3 separate regions of the Homo sapiens genome follow, and regions 2 and 3 are each linked to region 1. The links are contacts of gene promoters, found by promoter capture Hi-C in blood cells and fetal thymus (Javierre and others, 2016). All regions are on one chromosome and are shown on one strand. The core of a region is centred on a gene start or on the middle of the fragment in contact, and the rest is flanking DNA. Distances in the headings are between cores, read along the strand shown. Region 1 holds the start of ACTR8 (actin related protein 8). Region 2 overlaps CCDC174 (coiled-coil domain containing 174). Region 3 overlaps RPL15 (ribosomal protein L15).

Region 1 (3,070 bases), core at 275-2,774:
GGCTGCATTTGACATTCAGGTATTCTTCTTTGCACTTCAGATAGAATGTAAAACACAGGTTCTTGAGTACTTTATGCTTAACTCTTGTCTTTGCTACTCAATAGCTTATGATCTTGAGTGAATTATGCCATTTTATCCCACTTCACTCACCTGTAAAACGGGGATTAAATTTTTACCTCCAAGAGTTCTTTATTTAGTATTTAGTCATCACATGCTTATTGGGCACCTACCATGTGCTGAAGATAACTGGCAAAGTCTCACGGAGCTTACATTCTAGTGTGGGAGACAGTGAGCAGGCATGATAATTACAGACTAATGCTTCATGCTTCAAAGGGAATAGGATGATGAGAGAATAACTGCGGAAGGCCTGAGGTGACATTTGAGTTCAGACGTGAGAATGAGACAGCTGAGGGAAGAGCATCCAAGGCAAAATGAACAGCAAGTGCAACAGCCCGATGACGGGAAGGGCTTGGCATGTCTGAGAAAGATAAAACAGGTGTAGCTGGAAATGCCAAGGAATGGGGAGAGTGTTGTGAGGTGAACTTAGAAATGTAGCAATAACTAGATATGGTCTTTAGGTGGTGGTTAGTTTAGATTCTGTTCTTTGAGCAAAGGGAAACCATTAGAGTTTAAAGCATGAGTGACATCTAATTTTTGAGGTAAGTCTTAGTGGAGTGCTGGGTACATAGTAGTATTAACTACGTAATATTTTAAAACAACGTGGGCAACTATATAAGAACAGATCATAGGGGGACAGGACAAGGAGTTCGAGTTAAGAGGCTGTTGTAGTCATCCAGGTGAGATGATAGTGGCTTGGGCTAGGTAGTGGCATGGGAATGGAGAAGTGGATGAATTCAAGATCTATTTTAGAGACTGCAGGATTTACTGATGGATTGGATGTAGAAGCTGTCAACAAGTGAAGAATCAAAATGACATTTACTGAGATGGTGAAAGTGAGAGGGGAGGGAATCAAGAGTTAAATTTTGGACATATTTAAGTTTGCAGTGCCTTGTAGACAATCCAGATGGAGAGACCAAGTAGGCACTGGTTATCAGTACGGATCTCTCTGAGCGGTTCATCCTGGATATATATATTTGGGAATCGTATTCATTGCTAAAGCCAGGAAACTGGATAGTCACCCAAGGAGTGTGCCTGGAAAAGACCTAACCCCAACATCAGAGGCTGGACTGAACATGAAGACATATGAGAAAAACTAAGAGTACATATGGTATCTGGGAAGCCAGGAGAAGAGATGCCTGTGAGGACGAAATAAGATGCGGGTTATCAGCCGACCCCCACTAGGCGCTCGAAAAGCTATGTGTACTATGTTGCTGGCATCTACACAGTCAGGACTAATCACAGCAACACCCACCCAATCAATCCGCATGCACACCCCGCCCCCAGCCCCTGCGCCGGGCAGCCCCACCCCCGCCTTTTCGGAGCCCTCTGGGGCGACTCCGCGGCGGCCATCTTGACTGTGGGCAGCCGGCCGTGCGCCTGCGCGGTGGCCCTTCCATCCCGGCAGTCGTGGCTGCAGCGCTGAGGCGAGAGGTTGGTGGGTGTCTCCGGCCATAATGACCCAGGCTGAGAAGGGTGATACGGAGAACGGAAAGGAGAAGGGCGGCGAGAAGGAGAAGGAGCAGCGCGGCGTGAAGCGGCCCATCGTGCCCGCGCTGGTGCCGGAGTCGCTGCAAGAGGTGCGGCTCTGGCTGGGTTGGAACTCTTTGCCCTTGCTTGGGTCCTCCGCTGCCAGGCAAGGGGCGGGAGGCGGCGGGAGGCTTCGAGTCCCCCTTGCAGGCCCCAGCCCCTGGTGGGGGGAGTGCGGAAGCGGTCGTTCTTTTCCGGGTGGTGGCGCGCCGGGACGCCGAGGGCTGGGAGGTGCGGAGCGCCAGGAGCCAGGCGGAGCCCCCGCAGGGACACCGCTCCGATCTCCCGCACGCCCCACCGTCTGGTTGTGTGCGCTCCTGCCCGGGCTCTGGCCTCAGCTTCCCCGACCATAAAACGACCACGGTGATAACCAGCCGCCTCGCAAGTTGCCGTGAGGGTTAAATGGTGGCAGATAGAGTTTAGGACCAGGCTGGCTCACTGGGAGCGTCAGCCTGTGCTTGTTAAGGGATAGTTTGGGGTCCAGGCTTTTTCCTTTGTTAAGGAAATCTCAGATAATGGAAGTCATTTCAAGCTTAAAAGCAAGGAAATGGTGGACATTTGTCTAAATATATATTAAGAGCTTGTGTATCAAAAACAACACTATTAGACCAAACTAAACTAACCAGAAAAAATTATTTGCAGTAGCGTGCCTGGCAGAGGACCTTAGATGTATACACATACACAAAACCTTACTGATCAGTAACTAAAACAGCATTCACGTAGGAAAACGGGCACAGGCAGTGTACAATTCACAGAAGAAATGAGGCATAAACTGCTCAGAAATTCATGTAGGACATCTCTGATCCAGCTTCCTTACCGGTAGATGGGTTAAGGATAATACCTAACTAGTAGGGCAGCTACTAGTTAGTTATCACTAGTATGACAGTGCCTGGCACACCGTAAGCCCAGAGTGGCCATTACTGTTGCACAGGCCTGGTTTCTCCATCTGTCTAGTTGAGAAGGCTGACTGGATGGTCTGTAAGGGCCTTGCCAGATCCTTCCCTCTAGGATTCTCCCACTCTGTGGGGGGTGATTAGGAGGAGAGAGGTCACACTTGGAGATAGGACAACAGGTATCAGAGCATGGCATGGAATGGGCTTGTGCAGAGGGCAGTATTGGGCACTCAAGCAAGTACCTCCTCCATCCCCGACAGTCAGGGAGGGTTTCTTCAAAGGAGGTGAGGTGACATCTGTTTAGAGTCCTGAAGGTGATTAGGAGCTAACCAGAGGGAGGAGGGAATCTCAGGGAAGAAGAACAGTGTGGAAGACACTTGTGCCAACAGAGGATGTGAAGTGTTGGAGGCCCAGCCAGTAGATTAGGATGTCTGGAGTTAAGGAAGGGGACTGAAGATCTTAGCAGGGGCCATATCATGAGGGTCGTGTAAGCCACAGAGTCTGACCTCTTGTGAAGGCAGTGGATCACG
Region 2 (3,070 bases), core at 312-2,811, about 39 Mb after region 1:
TATCTGCTTGACATGACATTGTAGGTATTTCATACCAAAATACAAATTTTGTCCGTTATTGAGTTTTGGAAGACACAAAAGGGAACTGTCCAACCTTGTCTGGTATTTCATCTCTATTTCTAACAGTGGCTCTTGCATTTCTCTTACTTTAGCTTTGGATCTTATCAGCTCAGACAGCATGGGCTAATGTTCTACTGAAATGATCTTTTTCAAAGAGGCATAAACCATAGTCTTCCAGAGAGGCTGCTGTGGACACTCTGGAGAATTTACAGAAAAAATGTCCAGGGAAATTCCCCAATGGAACCATGTGTGAATCCAGGTTAGTACACTGGCATGTAGACCATTTTCAACTGAACATAAAAGAGGCTGCTAAAAACAGAGCATATGAGAACACCAAACTTTCATAATACTTTAAAGGCAGGTCCTGAGAAATGGCATTCCAAAGCTGTAAAACCACACAAGGCAGCACGAAGTTAAAACTTACCCCAAGTGCTTCTAGAAAAAAAACCATTTTCCATTCACTGGAGAGTTCTTACACCTCAGAGCCCACCTCCCTTACCTTTTCCGCGGTCCCACTCCCGGATGTGTGGCACTCCAGGCTTGGTGTCCTTCCTCTCCTGGACAATGACTTCTACTTTGCTACTCTGGGCAGCAGGACGTGGGGTTGGCACAGCCTCTGGCTCCGGTGGCAAAGGCCCAATAACATCTCCATCTATTTTTTGTAAAAGAATAAGACACTGTTATAAAAAAGCCTAAAGCTATTTTTAAAAATACAGAACATGCTAATCCTGAAAGTAAAAGTAACCATCAGTATTTATGAAGTACCTAACATGTCCCAGGCAGTGGATTAAGTCTTTTGTATACAACAGGTCATTTAATTCTTGTAACAATCCTAATAAATTCAATACTTCCATATTATCCCCATTTTATAGAGGGGGAAAATTAAGCTCAGAAATGGTACACAGGTAGAAAGTGATACGGGCTGGAGTCCTGGGCTGGGCTGGATGGATTTTAGTCTCTGTGCCCCTCACTATGCCACTCTGCTTCTCCAAACTGGCAATTGCAGGACCAGAAATCCCCAAATCACTCAACTAACATCACAATCTCAGGCGAAGCAAGCAGAGCCAAGGGGATGAACAGCTGGGGTCTGGTGTAGGCTGTTCAATTTTGGTCACATTTTTAAAATGTAAAAGAAAAATGGATTTTTAAAAAACACTGTGGTGGCGCTTCACATTTTCTGGACATGACAGATGTTCAGGAGATGGAGCAAAATTTGAGAAACAATCTGCACAGCTTAACATGTTATAGAGCGAGCATTTATCTGAAACTAAACAGATGGTTTTCAAATTCCTAAATGTTTCTGGTCTGTTTTGTTCAGACATTAGGAAATGGCCCATGGCTTCACATAAGCTTTGTGAGAGCTGGAGAGCTATACGTCCCTTCATACCCACACTCCTCCTTTTCCTTTGGGTAACAGAATGCCCCCCGGTTGCAGCTGAGCATGTGGCCACCTTGCTGGAGAGGCCATTTCCCAGCTTCTCCTACAGTGAGGTGTGGCCCACAGGACTGAGCTCTGGCCAGCAGGATGTAAATGCATAGGCTGTATGTAACTTCCCACTCACATCTCTAAAAAGGAAGGTGGCTCCCCTTCCCAGTCTCCCTGCCTACCCCTAGGCTGGATCATGAACAGGTGAGCAGGGGAGCAAGCTTTGACTATGCAGAAGAGAAAAATACTCTAGGAAATGGCAGAAACAGCAAGCCTGGAGGAAGCCTGGGACTAGATGACCATCTAGGGCAGAGCTACTCACATGCCCTGGATACCCACTCACCCACCTACCTCCAAGTTGTTAAGTAGAGAAACAGATCTCTATTTTGTTTGAGCCATTCTATGTAGGAGTCTCTAGATTGATGGCAATTTAGCCTGTACTACCACAACTCATGCAATAAGCTAGTCTGACATAGCATTTAACAGTGTTTCCAAGGGGAACCGTGCTCCAAGTTCCACATCACCAACTTCTGGAGCACAGTTCTTTGGTAAGCTTTGGCAAGCTGTCGATATTCATATTTCTAAATTCTTTTACTATGTAACTTTATGAATATAAATTTCTTTAAATATATATATAAAATAACCAATAGCAAAAAATTTAAGTCTAAAACATATATATGCAAAGCTAAACTTTATCTTAAAATATCTCTTTACTAAGTCTCAATTACAAGACTATGCCATTCTAAGATGCAACACAATGTATTGTTGCTTCATATCCTCATCTATAGCCTAAAAATATTGAATGTCATTCTGCATCACTTTGGTTATAAAAATTGCTCCTGCCAGTACCTCAAAGGTATACTGTTTGCTTAAATATAAAACTAAATGGCTAATTTTCACATTGCCAGCCCTATTAGCAAGACATCAATGGAAATAAAATTTTCCCTTTTGAAGTTCAGCAACATAGCCATGATATACCTCTATTTTCTTCTTCTGTTCCACCTTCTTTTGATTTTTTCATCTTTTTTTGTCGAAGTTTGGCAAGTCTTGCCTCTAAGATAGCCTTTCGCTTTTCCTTTATGTTTTCTCGTTTTGTTCTCTGATCTGTTGTCTGAACAGAAAATCAGAAAATTATTTGCTTGAAGCCAAATTTGCAATATTCCTGTCCAAAAAGATGAAATTTTCTTCTAAAAATAGACTAGTTAATTGATCTTCAGGCCACCTCTAAGAAGCTGTCCTTGAGATCCTCACAATGAAGCCCTATGAAGTACTCTCCTATGAACCCTCTGATGTCTTACAAAGTTTCATAAGAGTTCACAGAGCATCTTGCAAGCCTTAACACTCAAGAAAACCAACCCATTCCGTCCTACACCTTAATCCTTTAAGTAACTTTCTATTTTCCCATCCAAGCCACCCCAAAAGTACCACATTTGGGACCAGATTTAAAACATCAAAGTTACACAGGTTACTTGTGAGCAGTTATAAAATTTGAAACACAAAAATAGTATGGCAACTACCTTTATGCAATTCTGAATATCAATTTTAATTTCTAACTAATTTACTAGATTTTTCTGCAGTATGGTC
Region 3 (3,070 bases), core at 526-3,025, about 30 Mb after region 1:
TACAAAAAATAAAAATTGGGCTGGGGGTGGTGGCTCACGCCTGTAATCCCAGCACTTTGGGAGGCCAAGGCAGGTGGATCACTTGAGGTCAGGAGTTCGAGACCAGCCTGGCCAACATAGTGAAACCCAGTCTCTACTAAAAATACAAAACTTAGCTGGGCATGGCAGTGTGCGCCTGTAGTCCTGGCTATTTGGGAGGCCGAGGCAGAAGAATTGCTCAAACCCGGGAGACAGAGGTTGCAGTGAGCCGTGATTGCCCCACTGCACTCCCACCTGAGTGAGAGTGAGACTCCATCTGGAAAAAAAAAAAAAAAAAAAAAAACTCAATAATCAATGTTGCTGTGTGAATTACATGCCAATATAGAAATAGTAAAGCAAATGGGAACAGCTTGTGGGGCGGTCAGGGTATAGCTAATAAAGTGACCCTTAATATTGGAGTAAAGCTTTCCCATCATAAAGGCATTAGGAAGTGTTTGGTGTATTTGAAGAACAAACAGCAAGGAGCCTGGGGTGTGGACTGCAGTAGGACATGAGGTCACACATAAAGTGGGAAGATCATGAAAGCTATCATGAGGACTTTTGATTTTTTTGCACGGGAGTGCCATGATCAATTTAATAGGATCCCTTGGACTACTGTGTGGAGATAAAACTGTTGGGTAGCAAGGACAGGAACAAGGTTTTCTTGTAGAGACAATGCTGACCTTTGGCCCGAACCCTTTCTCTCCTTCCCAAATTAGTCATGTTTAAGGATTTTTTTTGTTTTTAGGTCTCACTATGCTGCCCAGGCTGGCCTCAACAAATCCTCCAGCTTGTCTCCCAAAGTGCCAGGATTACAGGCCTGAGCCACCACACCCAGCTGAACAGTTTTAGATAAAAACCTAATTCATGCAATGATCAAAGAACTGAGAGAATAAGTACATTTTATGCTATCTCAAATTATATTATTTCTATAATCACATTTTGATGCCTTTTTGCTGGTTAGGGCATTTGGTTTGCTTTAAAGTACATTAGCACTGTAAGATGACAAAAAATAACAGAAGGTCCATTTGTTTTAGTTTAATAGACATTTATTCCTTCAGTTGAACAACCTCTACACAATTAAAATGTATGACTTAAGATCTTTTCTTTTTTTGTGAAGAAATTTAGGTCTCAAGAACTTTTATGAACTTGCTATGAGTACTTCCTGGAAATCAATTAACTGAGTCTTTTGAAACCCCTAGAGAAGATAGGAGAAAATTGGTTCAGAACGAGCATTTAAATTAAGTCAGCAAAGTCAGAATTTAAAATTGGGCAATTCCTTGTCTACATTTTCTTTACACTCAAATTGACCCTGGACAACAGTAGTCTAGTCTCCTGGAAGACATGGTGCAAACAGAAATGCAATGTGGTGGTATACTCATAGTCAAAGTGGGTGCACAAGTGATGGTCCAACTTTGTGGAATGGTAAGGATTTTTAGGGTTGTTTGGCCAGAACAAGAGAAATAACTGCAGAAAACACATATGGTTGGAAACCATGCGCTTGTGACTTTTTCTGTAGCCTATGGGAGTGGACAGAGTGGGTAACCCAAGATGTTTTTAAGACTGACTGGACTAAGAATGACGTACTTATAGCCAACTACTTTCCCCCTAATGTGACTGAAGGGATTCATAATGATCACAATTAGCATTACGGTTAAGTATTTTAGGGTTGACGTCTAAGCTCACACTTGAAAGGTATTTATCTAATGGCCACTGGCTCACCAGCTTCCCACCCTAGCATTCATTGCTAGCTTACCAATCTTAAGGCTAATAATTTTATCGCACATTCAACTTCAAAACACACCAGTGTTTACCATTACCACTAATCACTGAATGCCATGAAGCCATGGCACTGAACCAGGAGCTTTCACCTTTTATGTGAATTTAAAATGGTACTGTGGAGGCTGAGGCAATTTTCTTCAGGCTAACCCAGATTTTCTAAAGCCCAACTTAAAAAGTCTACACCTGCCAAACTAAAAAAAACGCAGCCACTTGAAAATAAACCAGCAGAGCATTGCCATCACTCCGATAAAGCTGCAGGTTTCATCACATGCACCAGACAAATCTACAGGGCTAGTTTCAGTTCTCTCCTTTTAAAGAATTTATTAAGCCTGTTATACCACACAGTATGTTTTATACACTGACATACAACTCCCTAATAAGATAAAGCAAAGACAAAAAAGTTTATCTTATTAGAAACAAGATACACCACCACTTATTGTCTTCAAACATTATTGCACTTTAACTTTCTTAATTTGACAAAGCATTCAAGAAACATCTGCAGACTAGTTTTAACAGACAAATAACACCTGTAAGCAGACATGACTGTCCTAAATTGTTTATTAAGTATGAATTTTACAAACTTTACTTATATTAGCGGTAACGGTGGAGCTGGAGAGTATTGCGCCTTCTCCAAGCTGCCCGGCGAGAGCCACCAATAGTGTGGTGGAACTTGTGGCCCTTTCCAAGGCCACGGCTCTTTCGGCCTGCAGATGTCAGCCCACGCATCTCCCTGTGCTTGTGGACTGGTTTGGTGATCCACTGGGTGTCAGGATTTCTTCTGATAGCTTTATGGAATGGATCAATGAGGATAACCTCAAAAAATTTGTATGTGGAATCTTCACCAACCCAGTAAGAATTCAGGACTCTCAGAGCCCCACAGTGGCGTCCAGCTCGCTCCTAGAATAGGAAAAAAGGCCCAAGGTCAATCTCCCACATTGCCTATAGCAGCAAGTCAGAAAGAATTTTAATTCTCAACTCTAGTTCACCACCAGACAAGAGTCTTTTACTACTCAAGTTATTTACTAAGCATTTCTCCCTAGACTATCACAAGTGTAATGAGATAATGTAGACTTGCTAAAACAACACACATAGACTGAAACACATCATTCCCTCTTAATACTCCATTCCTGACTAGGGCAGGAATATGTTAATATCTGGGTAACAAAATTTAGGGTTTGGGGACCTTATCTTTTTCCATACAACTGAGAGCTCAGCAACGTTTAGCTTTAAAAATATTTAGTATATATTTTAGGCTGTGCAGGCCACATTT

The links. The method cuts DNA at HindIII sites, captures the fragments that hold promoters and counts their contacts. A CHiCAGO score of 5 or more calls a contact.
Region 2: a fragment that was not itself captured here is called in contact with the fragment with the promoter of ACTR8 in region 1 in 1 of 17 cell types (total B cells); the score reaches 8.0 in total B cells.
Region 3: a contact is called between a fragment that was not itself captured here and the fragment with the promoter of ACTR8 in region 1, in 1 of 17 cell types (activated CD4 T cells). The highest score is 9.6, in activated CD4 T cells.

Annotation. Positions count from the first base shown.
Region 1 is chr3:53,880,606-53,883,675 of GRCh38, reverse strand. ACTR8 (actin related protein 8) reads left to right here and starts at 1,524. Exons shown (of 13, transcript NM_022899.5): 1 at 1,524-1,697. The coding sequence starts at 1,575. RefSeq lists silencers at 1,308-1,397, 1,788-1,897 and an enhancer at 1,558-1,637. The HindIII fragment of the contact is 9,111 bases long and covers 1-2,181 here.
Region 2 is chr3:14,667,576-14,670,645 of GRCh38, reverse strand. CCDC174 (coiled-coil domain containing 174) reads right to left here. Exons shown (of 11, transcript NM_016474.5): 9 at 2,465-2,597; 10 at 560-712. Among named protein-coding and RNA genes, the nearest start is that of C3orf20, 6.0 kb to the left of the region's middle. The HindIII fragment of the contact is 297 bases long and covers 1,413-1,709 here.
Region 3 is chr3:23,918,823-23,921,892 of GRCh38, reverse strand. It overlaps RPL15 (ribosomal protein L15), which reads right to left. Exons shown (of 4, transcript NM_002948.5): 4 at 904-2,697. The coding sequence ends at 2,392. It also overlaps a transcript of NKIRAS1 not described here. Among named protein-coding and RNA genes, the nearest start is that of RPL15, 3.2 kb to the right of the region's middle. The HindIII fragment of the contact is 2,659 bases long and covers 446-3,070 here.